Linked DNA regions of Homo sapiens: regions 2, 3 and 4 are each linked to region 1. The links are contacts of gene promoters, found by promoter capture Hi-C in human tissues and cell types (Jung and others, 2019). All regions are on one chromosome and are shown on one strand. Each heading gives the region's core, a stretch centred on a gene start or on the middle of the fragment in contact. The rest is flanking DNA. Distances are from core to core; before and after follow the strand shown. Region 1 holds the start of ZMAT4 (zinc finger matrin-type 4). Region 2 overlaps ZMAT4 (zinc finger matrin-type 4). Region 3 overlaps ZMAT4 (zinc finger matrin-type 4). Region 4 has its middle 49 kb from the start of ZMAT4.

Evidence for each region. The method cuts DNA at HindIII sites, captures the fragments that hold promoters and counts their contacts. A contact is called where the count stands out against the background at its distance.
Region 2: a fragment that was not itself captured here is called in contact with the fragment with the promoter of ZMAT4 in region 1 in 3 of the 25 tissues and cell types used here (dorsolateral prefrontal cortex, hippocampus and thymus).
Region 3: a fragment that was not itself captured here is called in contact with the fragment with the promoter of ZMAT4 in region 1 in 4 of the 25 tissues and cell types used here (bladder, dorsolateral prefrontal cortex, mesendoderm cells and 1 more).
Region 4: a contact is called between a fragment that was not itself captured here and the fragment with the promoter of ZMAT4 in region 1, in 1 of the 25 tissues and cell types used here (hippocampus).

What each region holds. Positions count from the first base shown.
Region 1 is chr8:40,894,097-40,900,429 of GRCh38, reverse strand. It overlaps ZMAT4 (zinc finger matrin-type 4), which reads left to right and starts at 2,604. Exons shown (of 7, transcript NM_024645.3): 1 at 2,604-2,747. The HindIII fragment of the contact is 9,161 bases long and covers 1-6,221 here.
Region 2 is chr8:40,860,232-40,866,571 of GRCh38, reverse strand. All of the region lies in intron 1 of ZMAT4 (zinc finger matrin-type 4), which reads left to right. Among named protein-coding and RNA genes, the nearest start is that of ZMAT4, 34 kb to the left of the region's middle. The HindIII fragment of the contact is 5,134 bases long and covers 1,108-6,241 here.
Region 3 is chr8:40,837,393-40,844,346 of GRCh38, reverse strand. The region is part of intron 1 of ZMAT4 (zinc finger matrin-type 4); the gene reads left to right. Among named protein-coding and RNA genes, the nearest start is that of ZMAT4, 57 kb to the left of the region's middle. The HindIII fragment of the contact is 9,455 bases long and covers 1-6,954 here.
Region 4 is chr8:40,943,380-40,950,491 of GRCh38, reverse strand. No RefSeq gene overlaps it. Among named protein-coding and RNA genes, the nearest start is that of ZMAT4, 49 kb to the right of the region's middle. The HindIII fragment of the contact is 3,187 bases long and covers 2,172-5,358 here.

The sequences.
Region 1 (6,333 bases), core at 1,355-3,854:
TCCAGAGAGAACACAGAGAGCTTCGAGTGACTCTGGAGCTGCCGCATTTCACAGGCATTTCACAGTGGTTAGTCCTGAATTTTTAGCTCTTGGACTCCAGAGTGGGCCCCCTCCACACTCTGCTCTGCTGGAAGAGTAGTTGCAGTGGAATGAGGGTCGCATGAGGCTTAGGGCTGTGCACCCTGGATGCTTTGAATTGGGTTTTAGTAGTCAGCCCACTTATTGAGTGCTAGGTGCTATCTGTGGAGTGATAAAAATATGCATGATACCATCTCTGTCTTTACAGGGCTTGAAATGTATTTAGGGAAGCCAGGCATGTATGCATGAAATAGAAAGTCACCATACAAGGCAGTGGGGCACCTGCCATTTGCTGCAGAGGACGCAGCTGAAGATAAGGACTACAGCCATTCAAGGCCCCAGGGGAGGCCAGGGCAGGACTGGGACCAGAGCCTCACCAAAGACATGGAGATCCTAGGATAAGAAGGCTGAAGGGTTAGTTTCTGGATCATCTGAAATTTGATATTTTAAAAGCTTTCTTTAAAAGACGCTTTTATAATTCTCTCTTAAAAAATTCAGCCCATTTTGTCCTTTGCCATTTTTGAATTGGGTTATAGGTCTTGTACTTATTGATTTATAAAAGCTCTTTCATTTTAGAAACATTAATAATAAATATTTTACCTAGTTAAGAAAATTTAGCTGCCAAGTGATGTCTTTTCCATATGGTGACAAATACATTAAGGAGAGGGGAAGGTCAAAATTTGTGCTTTATGATTTCTTCTTAATTTTTAAAAATTTTTAATTTTATGGGAACATAGTGGGTGTATATATTTATGGGGTACACGAGATATTTTGATACAGGCATGCAATGTGTAATAATCACATTAGGGTAAATGGGGTATCTGGCACCTCAAGCATTTAGCATTTCCTTTTGTTACAAACAATCCAATTGTACTCTTTCAGTTATTTTAAAATGTACAATATGTTTTGCTGACTGTAATAACCCTGTTGTGCTGTCAAATACCAGATCCTATTCATTCTATCTAACTCTATTTTTGTACCTAGTAACCATTCCACCCCCGCCCCTTCCTAGCCTCTGGTAACCATCATTCTATTCTCTCTGTCCATGAGTTCAATTGTTTTAATTTTTAGCTCTCACAAATGAATGAAAACATGTGAAGTTTGTCTTTCCATGCCTGTTTTATTTCATTTAACAGAATGTCCTCCAGTTCCATCCATGGTGTTGTAAATGACAGGATCTCATTCCTTTTTATGGCTGAATAGTACTCCACTACGCATATGTACCACATTTTCTTCATCTAATTTATCTGTTGATGGACACTTACATTGCTTCCAGATCTTGTCTATTGTGAACAGAGCTGCAATAAACATGGCAGTGCAGGAATCTCTTCAAGATACTGATTTCTTTTTTGGGGGTATATACCTAGCAGTGGGATTGCTGGATCAGATGGTAGCTCTATATTTAGTTTTCTGACAAACCCCAATACTGTTCTCCATAGTGGCTGCATTAATTCACATTCTCACCAGCAATGTAGGAGGGTTCATTCTCTTTTCTTCACATCCTTGCCAGCATTTGTTATTGCCTGTCTTTTGGATAAAAGCCATTTTAACTAGGGTGAGACTTTATGATTTCTTGGTGAACAAGGAAAAGTGTTTAAGCTGTCCCCACCCTTTGATGGGTATGTTCTCTCTTCACGTGCGTAGGTTGTTGATGAAAGTCTAAGCGATTAATTTAAGCCATGTCAGAATAAACCAAAGTGAGGGTCCCAGCAGAATCATTCACTCTAGAATGCTCGGCTTTCTGGACCTCCCAGTGAGAACAGTGAGAAACTCCAGAGTTTTATGGATTTTAAGAATAGCTCTTCTGAGACTCTTTGGACAGGGTGCAAAGGAAAATTGTCTCCTCAGGTTGGGGGATGAGGGGGACTGTGAGATAAAGTACTGATAGATAAACTCCAGGTATGCACCTACTATGCTCCCCAAGCAATCTGCCATGTCCTTCACATGTCCTCCAGGGTGGCCCTGTGAAAAGCATTACTCCATCCCTTCAGCCCTCAACCTTGCTCGGCTTTCTAGAGTCTGTCTCATGCCGGCAGACACCCCATAGTTATTATTCTCTCTGCCCTCAGCAACATTTACCAGTTAGGGGGAAAATAAAGCCAGAAAATTGTTGCTATGGGCTCTGTTTTGTGGAAGTTAAAATGCTAGAGCAAGAATCTGATTGCTTGATAGCTCCATCTCTCTCTCTCTCTCCCTCCTACCCTCCTACCCCCCCACAGTTTCTCCTTCTTTTCCTCTCCCCTCCACCTCCTTCCCCCACCCCGCTCCCCCACATTTTCCTACTCCTCTCCCCTCTCTCCACTGGCCTCCCGGTCCTGCCCCCACATTGGGCTGGAGGAGAGCCTTACAGGTTGTCAATGAAACATGGAATTATTTCCTTTGATGGCTTAGATAATAGTAGGAGCCAAAGCAATGAGTGAGGTCGGCTGAAACCAATGCAGTCCTGCCCGGGACTGGAGAGCCAATCGCAAGAGCAGAGGGCGGGGCGTCGGAGCCAGCAGATAATTGCTAAGTGCATCGCTAGCACAGTTGGTCCGAGCTGCCGAAAGGTCTGGTCGCAGAGACAGGAACGTGTAATCCTCAGCGTGCTCCAGCCCACAGCTTCGCTCTACTGCTCGGCAGGGCAGCTGGCCTCTGGGCACCGGCGGCCCCTCTGCCTCGCGGAAAAGGTACCTCTGCCTGCGTCCCGGGGGTGCAGCGCCTGCGTCTCCATTGCCAGTGGCTTTGCAGTTTAGCCTAGGTGGAGGGATTGCAGAAAGAAAAGTTTCTGGGAGGGAATGTGATAAAGGTGGGAAATCACTGTCTTTTGTTGGGAGGAAAACAAGCGGACAATTTGGGAAACTTCTGCGCTGGCAAGAAATGGGCTTGTTTACTACTCCTAATTAGCTGCGCTCAGGTCTGTCTAAATAGGTCTGGTCTCAGGCTAGGGTGTCTGCAGGGCTGGGGTGGAGATTCGGGTGTGCTGGGTGAAAGAAGTTGGATCCCAGGGTGTGCTGTTTCCTGGTGCACCCATCATGGATAGGCTGGTTCCGAGAGAAACGTGATTGGTTGTTTGTGTTTTCCGCTATAGGGTCTGTCCCCTTCGTATTACCTTGATCTGCCTTCCCCAAACTATTGTGACCTTCAACTGGAGTCCTTCCTCAAACTTCTGCCTCCTTCCTGCCTGTCTCAGTTCATTTTATTTGGTGGAAGGAGACATTCCCCGGGGTGGGTGGGTGAGGATGGTCTATTCTGTTTGACCTGGTGGGCACCTACGTGACAACTTGGTGACACGCCAGCAAAACAGTTCTCAGAGGAGAGGAAATCACATAATTAATTAGCTCCCGAAAACTCTGGAAGACTTTCCAGGCTTGGGGTATCCTGAAAAAAAAAAAAAAAGAAAAAGCCAAAAAACGGGATAGAGAGTTCGGTTTGGTACCATGTGAAGCTTACACCCTTGTCCCCAGAAGGGGTGCCTGGCCCGGAGCATCCCCGCAGCTCTGGGAGGTGGAGGCTGGTGGAGGGGGTGGCTCCGTGTAGGTGCGCAGGTTGTTTTGGTGCACAGGTGCATTTGTGGCAGAGGTGGTGCTGAAGTCACCATCCACACTGCTTCTGCTAACTGCTCTTGAAGTAAAACAGCTCACCCCGGCAGGCAGCTGGTTCAGCCCAGAAGCACCCTTGAGCATTCTAAATCGCGAGACCTCAGGGGCCTCTCTTGCTCTGAGACCCTTGGGAAACTCCTTTCTCCCCCTGCCTCCTCCGCCTTTGGCTTCTGCTAAAGGGAGATATTAGGTAGGTGAGTCACTAGGAAGCAGGGACCCATGGGGAAGCAGGCGATGTGCTTGGTCTCGAACTTTCTTCCTCTTCTGCGAAGGCAGCTTCTGCTTGTGTGCCCACCGCACTTCACCAGTTGCGCTGCCTACCTGCGGGATACTCTGAAGCTGATAGTCTGGGGGTGATCTTCCAAGTCCTAGGGGCATTGAAGAGTTTAGATGATTTTCATCCCTCTGATTTCCGTTAAACCCGCAGCTGGGGAGTTCGATTCCCAGTCCTGACAAGACTGCATGTTCTGGGAGGGATTCTCCAGTGACACCTCTTCCTCAGGGCACCCTTCCACGGAGATGCAGATGACAGTCTTGATTCTCCAGCTCCACAAATCCCTTCCACTTTTTAATTCTTATTTTCTTTAACCACCACAACAGATTCTCCTCCACCTCCTGTAGGCAGCTATTTTGGGTGGGAACTGTGATTATTGAAACTCTATTCACAATGGTTAAAAAAATGCCTGCCCACTTTTTTTTTGGGGGGGGTGTCAAAATACCATCAGCGTTCTCTTCTGTACTTCCTATCTGACAGTAAACAAAACAATTTTGCAGCCCTGCCAATTATAATCTTTTTGTGTTTGGGGGGCCTGGAGCGGAAGCTGAACTTTTCCCAGCCGGTGGGCATGGTTAGTCATGGACGTCGTCCTCTGTGGCCTCTCCAGGGCACGTGACCCCCAGGGAGCCCAGGAGGGGCAGCCCCCAGCACGTGGGGGATCTTGCATGAGAGCACCTTGGTTTTCATGAAGGCAGTAAGGAAACCAGAAAATGCTTTTGAGTTTGAGGATTGCAAAACTGGGGGTTCCCTTTAATTGATGCCAATCTGTTGGATTTCTATCGTGATAGGAAACATTAAAAGTAAGGCATTTGAAACAGCTCCTGAAGGGTGAGTCATGCACAGAGGGAAGAGGCAGTGTGGGGGGAGGGGGCGGAGGGGGCCTTGGAAAGTACAAGTGGGACACGCTGGAGCGCTCGCTTTCCTTCCCTCTGCCTCCTCCTCAATCCTCTTTCTTGTATTTCCCCATTCGGAACAGAGATCATTAAAATAACAACTTTAGACCAAAAAAGGATCCTAGGAGCTGAAAAATAATTGACAAAGTGCAAAACACCCTCATTACAGCTTCACCTTGGATGGGGTGAGGTGTGAAACCCAGGACCCAGCGCCTCTGCTGCGATCCAGTTTGGAGAATCTAATTGCTGGTGTTAGGCTAATTAACTCCTTGTGAAGCTGCGTGCCTGTTTGTGTATGCAAGGACCGATGAATGCCTAGGAAATTAAATGTGTTACTTGTCATTTCATCAAACATGATGGCTTTGGCCAGGACCCTGGATAAGCACTATCCACAGACCCAGCGTTTTCTCCTCTTCCCAATTGGCCAAACTGGATCTCTCTCTCTTTTAACCACTATGGTGGGAAGGGGTTGTGTCTTTCTGCTTTTCCAAGCCCTGCGTGAGTTACCTGGCAAATAAAAGTCCTCTCCTTACCCCTCTGTCCCTCCATCCCTGTCATCCTTCTGTTATCCCTTTTCATCATAAACATATCAGTAAGTAATCTTTTGCCAACCTACTTTGATCTTGTCATTTTGTGCTGATTTTTCTGTTAAAGAAAATTGTCCCCTGAAATAAGACTGAAAACATATTAAAATTTTTATCAGAGAAGAGCCTTTTTGCCTTCTGCTTTAAAATTTAATTTTGTGCTTTTGGGGAAATCTAATAAGCACGCCTATTGTGTTCGCTGTTTTGGTAAACGCTTTTACAATGTCTTGTTTTTTTTTTCTGTGGATGTGTGAATTCCCTTCCTGTCCTAGGGGAAGGTGTGTCTGGAGATTTGAAACACTCTGGAACACCTCAGAAAGTTGAAGAGGTTGGAGCACGCTATTTCCATGTATTCAAGGTGGGGTGAAGGCTGTTTTGAAACCTAGACCCTGAAATGTATTCACCACACTCTGCTATTTTCCCTCTTCATCTTTCATTTAGGAAAATTTCATAGCCCAAATTATGACTAAATCATTCATCCTACTCACTCTCCTTCCCATGCTCGTGCCCCTTCCTCCCTTCCTCCATTCACCCTACATGTAGGGTTACCTCTCTTTCCTGGTTACTTTTTGTTTCTTCCTTCCTGTCATTTCAGGGGGCCCCAGGGTGGAGATCTAATTGTAGATGTTTTGTGCACCTCACTCCTGAAACAGTTAACCAGGGGACATCAGGAATTGTGGAATGTGATAGGAGCCTACCCTAGGGGAGCAATGAGGTAATCCTGTCCCCAAGTTCAGTTCTATGCAGACCTCACCAGAGCACCTGGAGTGGTGCAGCTGACCTGCATGAGGCAGACAGGGCAGATGCTTCGAAGCACAGTCCTGTCTGACACCTGGAGAGTCCCACCAGCCGCAAGCCCTCACTGTGCCACTGTCCTGAGGCCTGCGCCTGCTGCAGCCCCATGCGCAGAGCTGACCTTG
Region 2 (6,340 bases), core at 2,425-4,924, 35 kb after region 1:
AGCCCAGTCTCATCAGTAATCTATAAAACACCAAGCACACCCCACTCATCTTTCATGCTTTATGAAAAGTTAAAATTAAATCAGGGCAGCGTTATTAAGCTAAGTGATTTTTGCTTGGTTTGGATGAATTCCTATGTGTGCCACATTGTTTGTTGGAAACGTGCCTGGGGTGCCAGTGGGCTCAGAACGCACATTCACCAGCTATTAGCGGAAATGTTTCTGCTCACAATGTGGCATTTGGGGCGTCCCAGTGCCAGCCCTGGGGCACCAGCATTGTGTGCAGAACCCTTGTGCCCATAGCCCTAAGTCCTCTTGTGCCCACCAATTCTTAAAACCAGAAAGACAAGATATAGAACTAAAGCAAAGGAGTGCAGCTGCAGCCATCATCCCTGGTTTAGTGATAGATACAAATTCAAGTGAAAGAACTTTAAGGAATCACTTTCTTTCTAGGGGCCCTTGAAGGTCAGGGTTGGTGATAGTGTATTTTCGGAATGCCTTGTTCTAGGAAGGCTGTTAAACAGAATTGTTGATCCCTGCTTTCAGCCAGGAGACATTCAGAAGCACTAAGCTTGTTTGGCACTTGGCACACAGAGGGCACTCCTGGGGCCGAGGCTTTGTCGAATCCAGTCGCTTGCATCGTAGCTCTCTTTTCTTTTGAGCAGCTGGAAAGTTAGTTGGTTTGGCCTTCTAAAATCTAAAAATTGGTTGGGACGATCAGATTGCTGTTTAGCAAATGGCGGGGGGAAGAAAGAATGTCCCTTAGGGCCCAAACTTCTCCACATTCTGCGTAGTACAGTGAAAACAGCAGAAGACGGAGTCTAAAAGTCCGGGTTCGAGTCCCAGCTTTAGAAACTGAGGCTGTGTGATTGCAGGTAACCAACATTCTAAATTCCAGTTTTCTTCTGAGTGCCAGTAGAATATAAAAGGCATAATCCCTCCCACCACGGTTGCTGGGGAGAGCAGACCGTGTATTTCAATCCCCCAGCTGGCTGTGCAGCATGGCACAGATGGCAGATGGATGTTGATGGTCATTGTCCATCCTCTGAGGGTTCTGGAGCAGAGAGGCCTGGGCTCACTCATAGGGTTTCCCAGAGGCTGAAGCCACATCCTGCCTGGAAGATCCCTCTGCCATTGGTCATTTCCAACTCCTCTCCATGGCCCAGATCTGCACGGCCTAGCACAGGCTGCAGTGGTGATGCAGGCCGAATTCGGGGAAGATTTCTTTTTTCTGGAAGGTGACATTTTCAGAGGGATATCAGTCGTGGCTTGTATTTGCACCTTGTATTTTGCTTTCATGTCTTCCTTTTTGTCTTGGACTTTGTAAGGCAAAACATTGTGTGATACTCCGAAGCGAGAGAATAAGTGGCATTTGTCACTCTTGCTACAAGCCGTTGAGAATGTGTGAATGCAGCAAAAGGTTGATTCTTTCAGCCCTCACTTTTGCTGAGATATGTCCGTGCAAAAAGCGTACGTTTAAAGGGAATCTTGCATCAAAATTTGCCAGTAAGATTTAATTTCACATTTTTGCTTGACCTTGCACAGAATTCATTGAGTAAAATTCTGGGCTGTGTGCAATGTCACCCTTTTATTTAAAAAGCTGACTTCCTAAATAGAGGAAGAATTTCAGTAAGCATTTCAATAAAAGCTTTCTGAATTTTATATTTTTAGGAACTTCGTACCTCATAAATATTGGAATTTTATATCCAAATCAGCTTCAGTACATTTTCAATTTTTGAAATGTTATGACATATAGTTCAGGTTTTGGGAAATATAATTTGCTAGACTTTTTACAGCCATCTCCTCACATGCTAGAGGCTCTCTCTATGTTTTTGCTGAACTTAAAGTTATACCATCACAGTGCATAAAAATACCAGTCACTGGGGTAGGTCACAACCCAACTGTCATCACTGAGACAAAGAATTTAAAATGGAGACACTGTGGCACCTTTATGACCTGGGGTCATGATGTCATCACCAGCTCATCACTGCCACAACTGGGGTGAGTACCCAGGCCACACAGGGTATGTGTGATGCCTCACTTTTTTGTCCCTGCTACCACATTGCATTAGCTGCCAGAATCATCTTTTCCCACCTACATAGGGAGGACCTGAGGTGTGCCATCCTGGTCACCTGTCATCCTCAGACCATCTTGCGTGACACCCCAGCATTAGAGACCCACTTTTCTCAACTTCTCTCCAACTGCTTTTAAAATAAAAATGCTTTCATTTATGCAAAGTTCTAGTGACATATTAATATCAGATCTGAGGGTGTACATCCAGCATAGTAAGAGGAGAACAGGAAACTCTCAAGGAAAGAGGAATCCCAGGCGAGGTCATTTCCTGCTGATTTTCGTGGCTCAGGCAGATTGGCAAATGCCTTTCTTTCTGCTCCAAGATGAAATGGGCCAGATTTCCTGAACCCGGGAACACCCACCTCTGGTTTACGTCCATCCAAGCACAGGTCAGGTGCATTCATTAATTGGGAAAAGAATTAAGAAAGTTATTTAATCCGGGAATCAGATTCCATGCAGTGCACATGGTGACTGAGTACCTTCCCTATGTTGGACACCATGTGAGGCACAGGAGATACAGAGATAAATATGGACAAAAGTACATTCCCATTTTCTAGGACTTTATGATCTAATTGAAATAATGTGTGATAATTATTTTGATATAGGTAAGTGTTGTAATAAACTTGTGTGTGTAAAATATGAATAGTAGAGCATGAGTAGTGGTGATAGATGGCTTTACTTTGGTTTCTGACATAATGATTTTCACAAGGTCTTCCATAATTGGTATCTCATGAAAGTTAACTATTCTAATTAATTTTGAGGGTAATTTTGTGTATTCCCCTCATCAATGACTGTCCTCATATGGATTTTTAAAACTCTCTACCCCTTGTCTAGATCTTGCTATGAGCTGCTTTGCTGTGGTCCAAGCAATTAGTACTGGACATTTCTACTGGAAGCTGCATAGGAACTTTCAACTTAGCTGGTTGTGAACTGAACCCATCATCTACAGCTCTTCTCACAGCCTCCACTTCCACCTCCTCTTGTGTTCTTCTCTGCCCCAGTGAAAGGCACCACCGTTCACACCACGTGCCAGAGGGTAGTTCTTGATTCTCCTTCTCCCTTTAGCTACCTCATCAAAGGATGCCTAAGACATGCAGATTCCACTTCATACTGATTTCCTTTGTACCTCCACTTCTCCAAATTCTCCTCCATTTCTGGAACAGCCCTCCATAATCCTTCACATGGTTTAATCTACATGCTTTTACCAGTTTTTTTTTTCTCCTTTCTGAGCATTTTCCACATTGTAGCAACAGTAATACAAATCAGATCACCTCACTCCCCTACTTAAAGCTCTTCTGAGGTCCGCGCCATCCTTGGGATCACACCCAGACCCTTTCAACAAGGCTTCCATGGTGCTGCGTGGCTTGCTCACTGCTTGCTATTCCAGCCTCCGGTCTTGCCACTCTCCTCACCCTCAGATGACCTCTGCTTCACCAGAATGGATTTTTCTTTGCACTGGCTGCATCACCTGCTTCCAACCATTAGTCCTTTGCACAGGCTGTTCTTTCTTTCTTTCTTTCTTTTTTTTTTAAATTATATTTTAAGTTCTAGGGTACATGTGCACAATGTGCAGGTTTGTTACATATGTATACATGTGCCATGACAGTGTGCTGCACCCATTAACTCATCATTTACATTAGGTATATCTCCTAATGCTAGCCCTCCCCCTCCCCCCACCGCATGACAGGCCCCAGTGTGTGATGTTCCCCTTCCTGTGTCCAAGTGTTCTCATTGTTCAATTCCCACCTATGAGTGAGAACATGCGGTGTTTGGTTTTTTGTCCTTGCAATAATTTGCTGAGAATGATGGTTTCCAGCTTCATCCATGTCCCTACAAAGGACATGAACTCATCCTTTTTTATGGCTGCATAGTATTCCATGGTGTATATGTGCCAAATTTTCTTTTTTTTTTTTTTTTAATTTTTTTTTTTTATTATACTCTAAGTTTTAGGGTACATGTGCACATTGTGCAGGTTAGTTACATATGTATACATGTGCCATGCTGGTGTGCTGCACCCACTAACGTGTCGTCTAGCATTAGGTATATCTCCCAATGCTATCCCTCCCCCCTCCCCCGACCCCACCACAGTCCCCAGAGTGTGATATTCCCCTTCCTGTGTCCAAGTGATCTCATTGTTCAGTTCCCACCTATGAGTGAGAATATGCGGTGTTTGGTTTTTTGTCCTTGCGATAATTTGCTGAGAATGATGGTTTCCAGCTTCATCCATGTCCCTACAAAGGACATGAACTCATCCTTTTTTATGGCTGCATAGTATTCCATGGTGTATATGTGCCAAATTTTCTTAATCCAGTCTATCATTGATGGACATTTGGGTTGGTTCCAAGTCTTTGCTATTGTGTATAGTGCCGCAATAAACATACGTGTGCGTGTGTCTTTATAGCAGCATGATTTATAATCCTTTGGGTATATACCCAGTAATGGGATGGCTGGGTCTTACGGTATTTCTAGTTCTAGATCCTGGAGGAATTGCCAGACTGTCTTCCACAATGGTTGAACTAGTTTACAGTCCCACCAACAGTATAAAAGTGTTCCTATTTCTCCACATCCTCTCCAGCACCTGTTGTTTCCTGACTTTTTAATGATTGCCATTCTAACTGGTGTGAGATGGTATCTCATTGTGGTTTTGATTTGCATTTCTCTGATGGCCAGTGATGATGAGCATTTTTTCATGTGCTTTTTGGCTGCATAAATGTCTTCTTCTGAGAAGTGTCTGTTCATATCCTTTGCCCACTTGTTGATGGGGTTGTTTGTTTTTTTCTTGTAAATTTGTTTGAGTCCTTTGTAGATTCTGGATATTAGCTCTTTGTCAGATGAGTAGATTGCAAAAACTTTCTCCCATTCTGTAGGCTGCCTGTTCACTCTGATGGTAGTTTCTTTTGCTGTGCAGAAGCTCTTTAATTGGATGCCATTTGTCAATTTTGGCTTTTGTTGCCATTGCTTTTGGTGTTTTAGACACGAAGTCCTTGCCCATGCCTATGTCCTGAATGGTACTGCCTAGGTTTTCTTCTAGGGTTTTTATGGTTTTAGGTCTAACATTTAAGTCTTTAATCCATCTTGAATTAATTTTTGTATAAGGTGTAAGGAAGGGATCCAGTTTCAGCTTTCTACATATGGCTAGCCAGTTTTCCCAGCACCATTTATTGAACAGGGAATCTTTCCCCATTGCTTGTTTTTGTCAGGTTTGTCAAAGATCAGATGGTTGTAGCTGTGCACAGGCTGTTCTTTCAGGAGAGTTTTCTCAGTCATGATTCATCTAATTCATACCTACCGAGCACTTAGCATGTGCCAGGTACTGGACCAAGTGCTGCTAAACAAAAGAGACAGGGTCCCCCCTGGCCCTAGCAGAGTTTCAGACTAATCGAGGAGGAAGCATGAACTATTAATATGTAAATACCAATAATGATCAGTAAGAGAAAGAACAGGGACTGTAAGAGAGTGTCAGAAGCTCTGAATTTAGATTAGGAGGGGTGGTCAGCACAGGCTTCCTTGAGGAAGTGACAATGACCTTGAGATCTGCTCCTTTTTTGGGTCTGTCTCCCACCACTTCTCCTGGGAAGCTTTTCTTGGCCTTCCCGATGGTGGGTGCAACAGCCTCCTAAGGGCTCACATAGGGCCAGGTGCTTCCCCTGGTCAGTCATTGGTCCGATTGCACTGCATGTAGCTCTCCACCTCCAGACTGCAGACTCCAGGACGACCAGGCAGAGCCATGCTTGCTGCTTCTCCCATTTCAAACAGACAAGGGGTCGCTCATGAACATCTGTGGACCATTTTGGGTAAAGCCAGAAGCTCTTCCCAGTCAAGTGAGAGACATGTAGTATGTGGTCTGTGTTCTCTGCCAAAATTCTCCATAGACTGAAAAGATTTGGGAGCTATTATCCTAAGGTCCAAGGTGGCAAACGCACAGATCTATGGCTGGGTGCTATTCTCACCCTGTGGCTCTTCACAGAGCTTCATGTGTGGGCCTGGAAGCTCATAGGAAGGAATATTGCTGTTGTCCAATGTAACAATATCATGGTGAAAAGGAATATTATATTCTCTGAAGGACCTAAGATGATATTGGATAAATGAAGTGAAAAATTGTCTGTTTTAATCAATATGTTAATTATGCCTGTAAATCCTGCGGACAGAGTGTGGCAATGACCTTGATAAATACTGGATCCTATCTGGGTCCAGCCTGACCTCTGCTCATCTCATGGTCCCAGCTTGGCCTCTGCTCATCTCGTGGTCCCAACCTCCCCTCAGGCTGTAA
Region 3 (6,954 bases), core at 2,981-5,480, 58 kb after region 1:
GATGCCCATCCTCATTGGTGGAGGTGATCTCTGCTCAGTCTACGCAATTCAAACACTAATCTCTTCTGGGAACGCCATCATTGACATACCCAGAAATACTGTTTTACCAGCTCTCTGGGCATCCCTTAGCCCAGTCAAGTTGACACATAAAATTACCTATCACATGTGGTAAATTATTATTTTATTTACCTCCTTTCTTTAGAAAAAAACAATATTCTCTTCTCCTGTCACTCTTCAGCGGTTAGGTCGGCTGGTGGAATCATTGGGCACTTTCCAGAGTGCTCCAGGCTGGGCTAAAGAAGAAGCCCAGGGTCTATCAGTTGGACTTTTGCTGAATTGTTCCATTTCCAGTTATGTGAGTCTCCGTTTTCTAGGTGCACTGTGTACATAGCCTATAAAATTGAGGGGAAAGATAGAAGGGACTGATCTTAAAAATGTGTGCACTTTCTTGCTGGATTTATTTTCCAGTCATGCCCCAATTGCCCAATCAGCCAAAACTCAAGGCTGGCATCAAACCCACTCAACTGATTTTCATTTCTCTGATAGCTTCTGCCATCTCATGCCACCAGGATGTAGTGATGACTTGCATGCACACATTCTGCAGAGAGTGGACAAGGAGCAGTCTCAGGTGTGATTCTTGAGTCTCCTTGAGATCCTAGAGCTAGCAGCTGTTGAGTCAATATTGCACTTCTGTGGAGTAACCACTGTGAGTATTGAAGGCTGGAAAAGTGCTAAGAACCTGGAGATAAAAGCCCAAAATATTAGGGCTTGCTGCTGCTGCTTTAGAAAGACCAGAGAAGAGATTTTAGTCCAGTGGGAAGAGGAAGTGTCCACTCTCCTGGGAAGCATTCTGTCCCCTGTAAAAGCAGGATCTTATGGGTCTCTTCCTCAGCTCCATTCCAGTTCTGACCCATCTTGCAACATACAAACGCCACCTAGGAGTGAGCTGGACACAGGGCCCCATGAGCTCCTGCTGGGTCTCTGATCCAGCCAGCTCTTGGTCAGTTGTACATCTGGGGCCTTTGTCATGGGGCTGTGGGGTCGAGCAGTGACTGGAGAGGTTGCCCAAATGAAATGTGTTAGAATGAAGGACTTGATTCATATTTATAAACAAGGTCCTAGCAATGAGAGACTTTGATACAGTTTTGCTCCATTTAGAAGAGATGGGTAGAAGGAAACCAAAATTGCTTCTTGGCCTTGCCTCTCTGTCAGGGGCTTGCATTTCAGAGCTACAGATGCTTTGGAGAAGTCATTTAAAAAATGTGTTTTAGGCCGGGGACAGTGGCTTATGCCTGTAATCCCAGCACTTTGGGAGGCTGAGGTGGGTAGATCACCTGAGGTCTGGAGTTCGAGACCAGCCTAGCCAACATGGCGAAACCCCATCTCTACTAAAAATACAAAAAATTAGCCAGGCATGGTGGTGGGCACCTGTAATCCCAGCTACTCCGGAGGCTGAGGCAGGAGAATTGCTTGAACCTCGGGGGCGGAGATTGCAGTAAGCAGAGATCGCGCCATTGCACTCCAGCCTTGGCAACAAGAGTGAAACTCCATCTTAAAAACTAAATGTATTTTATAATATCCTGTAGGACTCTGGTTGACTAAAGACCAGACAAGGACCAGCCATGTCACAGCTCCATCATTATTACCTTCTTCTTGCAGAAATTCAAAGTGGAATTAAGTGATGAGAAGTGCCTAGTTGTTCATGGACTTTCTATGTCACTGGCAGGTGAGGATGACTTGTAAATCACTGCTTTCTCTTGACCCCCAAATCAAGTGGAAGAGTGCAGGCAGGCACTGTGCAAGGCTGGGTGGACTGCAGCCTGCAATCGGCTTTGACTTTTCTGACTGTGAAATCCGGAATTCTGTCAGAGCCACAAATTATTTCTCCTTTCAGCAATTGAAAAGAAAGAAAGATAACTGGAAGATAACTGGAGTGCTTTAATAAGGATTACAAGACCCTTGAAGGAAATGCTAAGCCAACAATTTGATTTAAAAGCTCTGGAAAGACCCCCGGATTTGGAGTCCGGAAACGTGGGCTTGAATCGCTGCCCTGTTTCTGCAAGTTCACTGTGGTCTGAATAGTGGATGAGGCCATGGGAGGGTATAGCTCAGAACAGAGGTGCACTTGGTGGGCAGAGGGACAGTTGATGCACTTGCTTAGTCCCTTGGGGGACCACCATTGCTGCCCCCAGGAGCCACACTTGCTTCTTTTTCTTAGCATCACCTACAGGTTCAGGTGCCTCACCTATAGGAGGGCCTTGTGGGGCTTGGGGGAGGGAAGACCTAATACTTTCTACCCAGACCTGTTTCTGATCACAGAGGCATCATTTTCTAATCAGAAAGTGGAGCTCCTCCCTTGGCTCTAGACACTGGAATGTCTACACCTGTGGGCACGTGCTGCCAGGCTCTTCCTGGAGACTGTTCTGCCCCAGGAGAGTGCAGAAGCGCATCCTGCAGGTGATCTCTTTAGGACCACCCTCTGGACTCTTCTTAACAATGTTCAGGGTAAGACCCAAAATAGAAACAGGGAGTTCTACTGGGAAGCAATAGATTACACTAGTGCATTTTACTTTTATTACTCCATTCCCAGTGCATTTTATCTTGTTATTTTATCAGTTTATTATTATCGGGCTAAAGTGCTTAGAATGGTGCTGGGTGCTGAGTACAGAGAAGAGAGATACTTTTTGCCTCTAAGGGCTCACAGTCTAGAGGAAGAGCAGGCAGCCAAGCACAGCATTGCAGGGGTGTACGACACCTGTCGGGCGTGCACACCTATGGGGGTGCACAGGGAGCCTGGGAGCCTGGGGAGGGGGCACTGACCCAGCTTGGGTAAGAGGAGTAGGGGGATGTCTCAGAGAGGCAATGCTTAGCACATGACAGATGCAGAGGAGAGAACACAGTCTAGCATTTAACAAGACGTGGAAGGGACAGGGAGCAGGCACATTTGTTGGTGGCAGGGGGGCGGCCTCTGGAGTGGCTGGGATTGGTTGGTCGTGCAGCTGAGCTGGAGGCCTTGCCTGGTCCCAGATGCATTTACATCCAGTAGGAGTTAGCAGTTACTCAGGTTTCAAACTGGCTCTTATCAGAAACTGAGGGGTAGGCTGAGGTCCTGGGGAGAGTGCAACCGCCACTGGGGCCAGCTCCTCATTTGGAGAGTTCACCGCAAAACACTTTAGACTCTACTACGTTTCACCCTGGAGTCATGCTGCAGATCGAATGACGTTGCCAAGGACCGTTGTTCCTATAGGACTAAGTAGCCTGTGATGTTGCTCTTCTTTTTGCCCCTGACGCCAGCATCCAACAGGGTTCTATTGTACACAGTTTCCATTATGTGGGGCTCCACAGAAAATTAGCCGAAGAACTCCCCCGGGTGCCAGGTGGCTTGTAATATCTCATTAGGAATGGCTGTGTGGGAAGAAACAATATTTTTAGCAGTGGGTAGGAAGTGTTATTGAAATATGACTTCTTTGACATTATGGAACTTAGAATCATCGGTTCAAGTCAGATGGTACTATAGTAACTGTAACTACATTGGGGACTGAGATCAAAAGAATGGGAACCAGAATTCGGCACTAGCTTATTTCTCTCTTTTGCATATGATTAAGCAGTATTGAACCTATCTCAGAATACAGCATCACCAGAAACAATGCCTTGCCTAGTACTGCATAAATGCTACTCAGACAATACGTTTCTGGACTCCTGGAGGAGTTCTGAATCTTTGGGAATGGATCTGCTCTCTGACTAACGGAGGTAGCAGGTTGCCAATGTCTAATGAGGTGAGGTCCACAGTAGGGCTGTGTGAGCTCTGCTTCATGGGGAGGTGAGTGAGAAGAAATGCCACAGTCAGGGTTTGCCAGGGAAGAGACTTTGCAGAGTTTAGTGCTCAGGGTGCCTACCGGGTGGCTCTTGGGAGGGATATCTGTGGAGGGAGGAGCAGAAGCAGGATTGGAAAGAGGGAGAAACTGGGCTTTGGTGCAGGTATAGTAGCCTCAGCCAACTGCATGGGGAGTCGTGGAGCTGAAAAGGCCCATCAGGGTTGGTCCATGTTGTGTTGCACTGACTGGGCTTTTTCACCTTTGCAGCTGTCAGTTAGTAGCCATGGGTGCCCCGGAGGAGTGTGATTTTGGGGGCATGGCTCTCTGAAGCAAGCCGTTCCTGAAGGGACAGGCTGCTGAAGGCTGAGTGCCAACTGTATTCTCAGCAAATAGAGGCAAGCATTTCTTCCTTGAAAGGGCACCTCAGCCATGCATCTCCCTTGTCCACCACAAGATTTCCAAGTACTTATTTTAATGTGAGTCCAGGCCACTCCATCAGTAGGCATCTCACAGCCCACTGACTTGGGAGGATCACCACTTAGTTTTGTTTGGTGGGAAATAGGAATTACTGCTTATAACAGGAATTGCCTTTTAAAATTCATACAAATGTATGGGGTACATGCACAGTTTTGTTACATGCATAGAATGCATAGTGGTAACATCAGAGCTTTTAGGTTAGCCATCATTCATTAACTAATTTCTCATCATCCACCCCCTCACTCTTCCAAGACTTCATTGTCTTTCACTCCACACTCTATGTCCATGTGTTATACATTTTTTAGCACCTACTTATGAGTGAGAACACGCCTGGCTTTTGACTTTCTGTGCCTGGCATGTTTCACTTAAGATATCGACCTCCAATCCATTCATGTTGCTGCAAAAGGTGTGATTTCATTCTTTTTATGACTGCATAGTATTCTATGGTAAACCACATTTTCTTTACCAATTCATTCATTGATGGACATTTAGGTCGATTCACTGTCATGACTAGTGCTGTAATAAACATACAAGTGCAGGTATCTTTTTGGTATATTGATTTCTTTTCCTTTGGGTAGATACCTGGTGGTGGGATTGTAGCTAGCACTCAGTTTGAGGTGGAATCTGTACTTAAATGTACTTTCCAATTTGACCTTAACATCTTCACGTCTCACAAACCTCTGGGCTTTGCCATTCTAGACAAAATGCTTACTTGTAAGTTTCTGGAGGGTGGCAGAAGAGGCAAGGCACACCTGAGCACAGCTGCCTGTCGCTGGCCCTTGCTTTCGTCTCGCCAGCCTCTGGGGATCTGACCTGGAAGGTGGTCTTTTTAGGCATCTCTGCACCATTGCTTCTGCTGGTCAGAGTCACAGAGGGCTTGTTTCTCCAAAGCTTAAAAAGGTGTTTTTGGTTTCTGCCTGCCCAAGGTGATTCTTCAAAGGAAGGTAGTAAATATTCTGGAAGAGGCAGTGAGCTGCAGGGAAAGAACATTATTTCAGGAGTTAGAGATCTCCATTTTGCCTTTTATGTACAGGGTACATTTGGATAAGTTTCATCACTTTCCAGGGTGTCTTTTCCATATTATTTGGGAATGTGAAAGGGTGAGATTAGATGGTCCTTATGGCCCTTTCTGGTGCTGTGATGTTTTCATTCTTATCTCCATCATTAATGTGACCTCATTCTCTCTAAGCCACTCAGTTCCAATTGCCTTCATGTCCCGCCCCTTTATTTTGGCCTCTTCACCTTCCAAATCCTTCCTTCACTGTCCACCTAACTGTTCATGTCTTTTGTTTCCTTCCAGCTCTTCCCTGATGCTGGTCTTCTTTCCCCCACCTGGCAAGCGTGAGAGGGTGTTAGGAGGGGCAGGGCTGGTGGCATTGACTGAGAGTCAGTCTGGCCATGGTAGGTGGGCAGGATGGTTGAAGACACCAATAGTTCACTGCCAGGCTTAAGCAGAGCTGACGAGGAGAGTGAGGAGTGCATTAGAAGGGTATCACCCCCAGCCTGGGCAATATAGTGAGACCCCATCTTAAAAAAATCAAAAAGTTAGCTGGGCATGGTGGCACACACTTGTAGTCCCAGCTACTCTGGAAGCTGAGGCAGGAGGTTTGCTTGAGCCCAGGAGGTTGAGGCTACAGTGAGCCATGATCATGCCACTGCACTCCAGGCTGGGTAAGAGAGCAAGACCCTGTCTCAGGAAATAAAAAAATAAACAAAAGAGGGGCATCACCAGCTCACAGTGATGCTTCCGTGCTTTCCCCAGAGCCAGGAACTTCCCAGCCAGGGAATGAATCTATATCAATGCAGTCTCATTTCCTGGAAACTGGCCAACTGCTGCTCACCTCAGCTAAAAGGCGTGAAGAACGGATTTGAGGGAAGAATTTGACAGTGTAACTACATTAAGCGGTGGAGTGATGAGATGTGTGCCTCCTCCCCAGCATCAGGGCTGTTGCCAGATGGCCCAGCTGTCTGTCATCTCTGGCGAGGTGACAAGACCCTGCGACTTCGATGTGTGGCACTTGATCATTACCTGGCATCCCAGTGGTCAGGGCCATCTGCTCCGTTTGCCCCTCACAAGATGGCAAAGCAGATTCTGCAAGGCACCAACACCAATGTGCCAGGGGTGAGGAGCATGGGTCTGTTCCAAACCAGAGAGAAACAGAGCAGACTTCTTGGCAGGTGCCACTGGTACCTGAGAACATCCTCCTGGTTGGCTCATCTGTAAAGATGCTCCCAGCCCGTGTACCAGGACACACGCCTTGTCCTGCGATGATACTCTGCTTTCCCACGAGTTGCTTGATTTTAGCCCCCAGAAGCCACACTCTGTTCAAATGAGAAATCGAGCGGTACTGACCTGAATGAGCATTCTCAGTGAGGTCTGCACTGTTTAGTGCCATGACCCAGAGAGCTGAGCTGGAGAGACAAGAGATTAGGTTTGGTCTCTGGACTCTCAGACCCTTGAATATCTCTGGCTTTTTCCAATGCTCCCCTACAAAGCACATAAGAGGTTTCACTGGGTAAAAAGTGCACTTTGTGTATTCTTTTTCCCCAGCCATGCCAAGTGACTCAGGTTCAAGTAGAGTTAGTTAAGGTCATGCTGGATAAATCCTGGAATCATAGTGGCTTAGTGCCTTAGAGGTTTAGTTCCCATTGACACAAAAGT
Region 4 (7,112 bases), core at 2,516-5,015, 49 kb before region 1:
AAGTTGATCTTTCATTTCTTTGTGATCATGGCTTGTTTCCACCATGTTATTGACCACACTGAATTTTGTATTTTCATTTATGAATCTGACTCCAGATCTGAATTAGGATTATATTCAGCAGTAAGTGACAGCAAATCAAAAAAGACAGTAGCTTATACAGTGTCAGTGCTTATTTCCACATAGAAGTCATGTGCAAGTCGGCAGTGCCTGGTCAACATGGCTTCCCTGGCCCAGGGAGATGGGGGGCTTACCTTGTTGATCCACTTCCCTTAATGCACAGCTTCCACTTCCTGGTCCACAATGGCTATTCTAGCTCAGCCTGTTAGGTTTGCCTTCTGACCAGCAGAGAGGAGAAACAGAGGGGGAAGGACACATCTCCTTGGTCCAAGGCCACTTCCTCCCCAGACTCAAACTTGTAAGAACAGGGTTATGTTAGTTTGCCAGGACTGACATAAAAAATTACCAAAAACTTGTGGCTTAACACAACAGAAACTTATTCCCTCACTGTTTTAGAGGCCAAAAGTCTAAAATCAAGGCATCTGCAGGGCCGTGCTCCCTTTGAAGGCTCTAGGGAAGGACTCATTCCTTGCCTTTCTCCCATGCTTTAGTGGTTGCTGACAATCCTTGGTGTTTTATGACTTGTAATGCATCACTTCCATCTCTGCCTCCACCTTCTTTCTGTGTCTTCACATGGCCTTCTCATACAGATACCAGTCATCGAATTTAGGGGCCACCTTAATCCATGGCAACCTCATCTTAACTAGTTACAAATGCAAAGACTCCATTTTCAAATAATGTCACCTTCCGAGGTTTTGTGTACATATGAATTTTGGGAGGACACTATTCAACTCATTACAAGGTTCTTATCTCTTCATCTTGCAACATGAGGCACCATGTCTAGAATACAGAAGGAGCTTAACAAAAGCTTTTAGAATTGAATACAACTGATTACTGGCTTCCAAGGTGTTTGGTTTCAGTTCTCTTCAATTAACATTCACTGAGTTCCTTTTTCCACAGGGCTGGTTAATCATTTTATAATATTTTCCCATGAAAAATTAGAATCAAGTCAGCATGGGATGATTTCCTGGTAATTTATCCAAATTATATACCACTTTATCCTGGTAAAGTGAAATAATACTTTGAAACATTAGGACAAAATTATAACAAAATGTAGTCATCCCTTTCCCATTCCTCAGTCCTGCTCCCTAAATGCAACTGCTGTGAACTCTTCCAGCTGGGTCTTGAGGTATTGAACTCCATGTTTCTAAGTAACATATGCTCACCACAATCCTTTGGGTCATCAGTTTTAGGCATTGCAGTTGACCTGCCAGGGTCCCACCTGGTCCCTTGGACCTTATCCCTCAGTGCGGCTTGCCTACTTCTAGCTGGCAATATCTTCATCTCTTTGCCGGAGAATTTTCTTCAAAGACTGCTCACCTGTGCACAGGAGCAGGCATGAAATGTCAGGCAATTTCCTCAAAAGCAGATCCAACCTAGCAGGGCTTGGTGTATAAATCCCCCCACTCCCTCGCCCTTGTGGTGGGCTAACTCAGGCAGGTGCTGCACCATTCTCCGGAGCTTCTCTGAGGGATTGAGACATAGTCTGCTCAAGGGGTTTCTGGTTGATCATGCACCATTATTGGTGGCTTCCCTTCCTGTCACTCTCTCCACTCCTCTATGGTGTTTTCTGTATCTCCCAAGTAAGCTTTTTAAAAATACCTTTTATTGTAGTAAAATGCACAGAACATTTATCATCTTAATCATTTTAAGTGTACAGTTGGGTGGCATTAAGTACATTGTTGTGCAACCATCACCAACATCCATCTCCAGCACTTTTCATCATCTCCAACTGAAACTCAGTGTCCATTAAACAATAACTCCCCATTCCCTCTCTCCCTCAGGCCCTGGCAATCCCTTCAAATAAGATTTTGCATTAATTCTTGTCTCTGGGTCTGCTTCAGGAGAAACTCAAGCTAAGACAGACATTAATTATTGATTTTCTGTCATGGTAATTCATTCATGACTTTATTCAACTAGTATTTATTAAAAATCTCCAAGGTGGCAAGCAATAGTCTATAAGTTACATGTATCTGTTAGAAAATGTTTTGAAGAAAAATAAAGCAGAGTAGGATGATAAGAGTGCTACAGTTTGGGGGATCATTATTGCTGATACATTGGACAAAAGAAGAGACATTTAAACAGGGACTTGAATGAGATGAGTGAGTGGGCCTCGTCCTCTCTGGGGAAGGGAGTTCTAGGCAGAGGCACCTGCTAGTGCAAAGGCCCAGAGGTGGGAATAAACTTGGATAAGGATTCAGCATTCTTATTCTTCCCACCTGCAGGCATATACTTCCCTTTCAATCTTCTCAGTACAGTTATAGCACATGCTTTGGATAAGTTAATAGTTGATTATTCAATTATTTGGCTTATGAAAATATTGTTGACTGCTAACCCATCCAATGTACAAATTTTTTTCTTGTATAAACTTTTGTTTTGTTTTTCCTGGAGCTAGACATGCTTTTCATGTGCTTAGTTTAGCATAGGTAAGAATTTTATCAGAGAAGCAGAACCACTAGGGTTTCTAAAAGTTATTATTATGAGTTCTCCTTTTTTTCCTGGATATCTTCCCCCTGAAGCTTTCTGTTTTTCTGTCCCTTCTCTAGTTATGGCACATGGGACATGGCTGTCCTTCTGGGACTTCTCTCCCGTTTCTCTGATGTGTCACTCATTTCCTGCATCCAGTCTTCTTCTTTCTTGGCTCACTCCCCCCATCTATCTGTTTATTGGTATGTATGCACGTGTTTATTGCTGCAACTCATCTTCTGGTAGCTTCTAGAAAATAGTGCATGAGAGATAGAAGCAAATCTACCTTCAAATTTGGTTGACAGTTTAAGTATTTAATTCTGAACTAAAAGTTATTTTTCCCCTCAGAACTTTAAAGAAATTGTCCCACAGCCTTCTAACATCTGATGAAATTCTTGAGAAATCCAATGTCATTCATATCCCTAGTTCATTGCATGTAACCTACCTTCCTTCCTTCCTCCCTTCCTTCCTTCTTTCCTTCCTTCCTCTCTTTCCTACTTTATTTTGATTATTATTTTTATCCACATGTTGTAAAGTTTCATGTTAAGGTTCTTTGCTGTGAACCTTTTAAAATTCATTGCATTGGTTATTAAATAGGCCCTTTTAATCTGCCCAGATAGGAATTTTTCCATATTATTTCTTTGTTAGTATCATCTTATTCATTTTTTTCTCTTCTCTATGGGACTTCTATTAGTTAACTCTTGGTCTCCCTGAATTGCTCATTGAATTTTCCTCCTTGCCTCTCCATAGCTCATCTGTTTGTTCCTCCTCTTCCTCCTCCCCTTCTACTTCTTCCATTTTTAAAGTATTTTCTGGAATAGTTCCTTGACTTTATGAACTCTTTTATTGATTAAACAATGTTTGATGTTCATAATTTTATTATTTCATTTTTTAATAGAGTTTCTTATTCTCTAATTGCTCCCATTTTGCTATTGGGGCCCTCTGTTCTCATTTCATGGTGTCATTTCTTTTTTGTATCTCTCTAAAGATATTGATAGTCTTTGGAGCTTCTTGTCTGTTCTTCGTATAATCTCTGCTTCCTGATTTAAAAAATAATTTGTTTTGATCTTCATATTAGATTCTTTCCTTAAAAAAATCTGTTGATACTTTGCTGTCTGTTTACATTTTGAAATTATTAAGGACTCAAGGGTTGATGTGAGGCTCTCTGATTGCAACAGGGCACTGATTCTGGACTTCACGGTAGGGTGGTGGGGCTGAAAACTGACTTTTCCCTTGAGAGACACTCAACTGTATCTGTACATATACTCAGGACTTTCTGTTTGTTAGCATAGAATTCTGTTTCTTGAATATTTTCCCATCTCCTGTCTGGCCACTGGCATTTGGGGACTGGGGCTGGAAGAGGATGGTGAGGAGTGAAGGAGGATGAAGGTGTCTTTGTTCTGTAGACAGAGATCATTCAGCCCCTCTCTTCAGCCTGGCAGCTGGCCCATGTCTGCCTGTGGGCCTCAGGGGCCCTTTTCTGAGGTTCACCCTGCAGGGCCAAGGAAGGGCCATTCCTTGGCTGTGCAGCGTATGGGGAGGGGATTTAGGAGCCTGACTACTCTGTATGAAAGCTTTCAGACAGGTCTCTTTTTAGTCTCTTCTCTTGCCCCACTTTCCCTCGGAACTCAATGCTTTCATTCTGGGCCTCCCAGGGTCCTGCAGTGAGCGGCGAGCTGCCCAGCCTCCCTGGCCTGTGTGGGGGTGCACCGCTCTTTCGCCCGCCATTTGACTTCTGGAATCTTGCTGCTGTCTCTCTGCTGCTATAAATTATTCTCTTCTCATTGTCTTTGTAGATTTACTCCTCTTTTATTACTTTCTTATGATATTACTACTATTTCGGGAGAGTAGGTATAAATGCTTATGCTCATTTCACCTAGTTAGCTGGAAATTCGCCTATTTTGCCATGCTGATTTGCATGAACAGTTGGTGGCTAATGCTATTCACTGCACTTTAGACTGTTCTCCACAGAATGTGTGCAGGGCTCCTGGCAACAGCAGAATAACGCAACGTTGAAGACCTTGAGCTCTGGCCTGTTTGCTTGGAGAAGTCACATCCTCTTTGTTTCTCAGTTTCCTCATGTGTGAAATGGGGATTATGATAGTTCTGACCTTAGAGGTAAATTAGATAATGCTTGTAAAATGCTTTGCTGTTTTGAGCACAGAATAGCTGTTCAATAAATTGGAGCAATTATTGTTATGAATACAATTAATGTATCCATGTATTACTCAGTGATAAGAATGTCTTGCAAACACTATTACTATAGCTGAGATAGGACCCAGTAAGAAAAAGACTCAATATTATAGACAGAAGCCCCTAATAATTCCAACCAAGCAAGGTATTTATTAAGCACCTAATGGATACCAGTGTTATGCTAAGCACTGTGGAGAACACAGAGAACAGTATTCAGATGCAGAGTCTGTCTTTAGGGAGCTTGCCATTCAGCTGGGGAGAACATTTAAAGAAGAGCTAAGACCTAAGTCATAAGTTACTGGTCAAAGTAGAATAGAGACAGAAGGGAGAAGATGTGGGGGTTAGATTAGGGGACACATGGCTGCCTGGAAGATAGAGAATCTGGCCTGAGTTTGGATGAAGAGGCATTTCTTGATGCATTAAAGGAAGGAAAGAGTCATCCAGGTTGCAGAAACAGCAGGAGCCCAGCAGGGTGGGAGGGAGAAGCCTTGTGTTTGCAGAACAGTGAGCAGAAAGCTCAGGTGAAGGAGAAGCTGCTGGACGTAAGGCTGGATATTAAAGGTGTGATTAGACTCTGAACAGCTCAGAAAGTGTGACAGAGGAGCTGGCAGGCCATATGGCAGACTCTGGCTTTTGAGCAGGGAGCAGCAAAACCCTTGAGGTACAGGAGGTACCCGATGCTTTACCGCGGTCTCCAACCACCCGAAGGAGAAGGAGAACGTAAAGGGTAAGGTCTCCAAACTTGCCTGAGAAGTGAGGGATGAGATGGATAAAAAAGTTGATGCGGATCTTAAATACTATAGGAGCAAAAGCGCTAGATACACACAAGGATGGTGTTCAGGGAGCGGCTTCCCCTTCACTTGCAGTGGGAAGAGCTCCTTTCTGGGGACAGAGGAAGGAGACAGAGGTGCATGTCCCCGGTGGAGGGTGGGGCTCCTCTCAGGGGTTAGGGTTGCTGCTGCTCTGGGGAGCCCTGAGGTCGCAGGTTGAAGCTGTCCATGTGGTGGGGGTGGGGAGTGCATCCCCTCTCAGCCTTGAGGCCGCCGCTTTCCTGGCTTCCCCTCAGCTCCTGCAAGGGGAAAGACAGACTTGGCCTCTGCTAAACTCACTGGTCCTTGCTGACAATTATTTTTCTTTTCTGTGTGCCTCACAGGCTTGTCCTCATGAGCCCCCTCTATGGGCACTTCTGTGCTTTGGGTTGACATTGAGAATTCCCTGTGACCCTATGGGGTTTTCCTCTTTCATCCACCTGCCCCTCAGAGAACTGGCACGGAGATCTTTCAACTCTAACAGGCAGCAAAGAGTTCTTGTACCTGAATATCTGCCGACTAACTCCCTTCTGAGGAGCAGAGAGAAGGAGAGACCAGGCTCTGGAGTCTCAGCATCCGCTCTCAAGGGCACTCTCGCTGCAGCTCAAGCTGTTTCTCATTGGCTGTCTCTGGCAGTTTATTTCTGAACTGCTTAAGATTTTGCTGGGCTGTCTGGGGGTGGGGTAGGTAGTGTGAGGGCAATAGTTAAGAGTAAGTGAGGCAGGCGAGGGATGTGAGAAAGGGCCCGCCTAGGGGTGTGTTGATAAATGTTTTACAGGGATGGAAGCGGAGGACCTTGATTTGTAAAGTTTGCTGATTTCTGTGGTGTCAACAATCTCCCCCTGGCCAATTTCAAGCTACAAACAGGATGTTAAATGGCTAGCATAATTCTTAAATAAACTTACACAAGCTGGTTGGAGCTTTCACCAGTGCATCCCTGTTTCCGCTGTCTCTGGAAGTTTACAAGCCCAAGCTTCCATCGTGCATTTTACCATTGTAAAAAATAAAGTAAAAGTTCCTCTTCAAAGACTTTCCTCCCCATTTAATTAGGAATAAATAGTAACTTCTCTTAGAAGCAAAATTTATTCAAAGACCTGTGCTAACATTCTTAAATATCTGCTAGCCTTGATAAAGAAATCAATGTACTTTATGTTCTTAGCTCCCACAGTTTAGCCTAAATATTTGCCCTAGCATACTTATACTGGTCCAAGCAAGCAGTAGGTCATAGTCTGTTCCTCTTCCTTATTTAAAGGTGTTTTTACCTTTCTCAGCATTCCACAAGTTACTTCCTCCTTCCTTTGTTCTCTTCTACCTTTGCCTCTTTTAAAAAGTTCTAAGTTGCTAGCCAATCAGGACAAATACAAAATGTAAGGTCCCGTTCCAGCCAATGAAAACTGGACACAGCAATAGGGTGGATGCATCAAGGATATAAATGACCCTGACTCCTTTGTTCAGTGTACTCTCGTGGCAAAACTGCTGGCAAGTGTACCCTTTCTGCAGAAAGTATAAAAATAGCCTTGCTGAGTA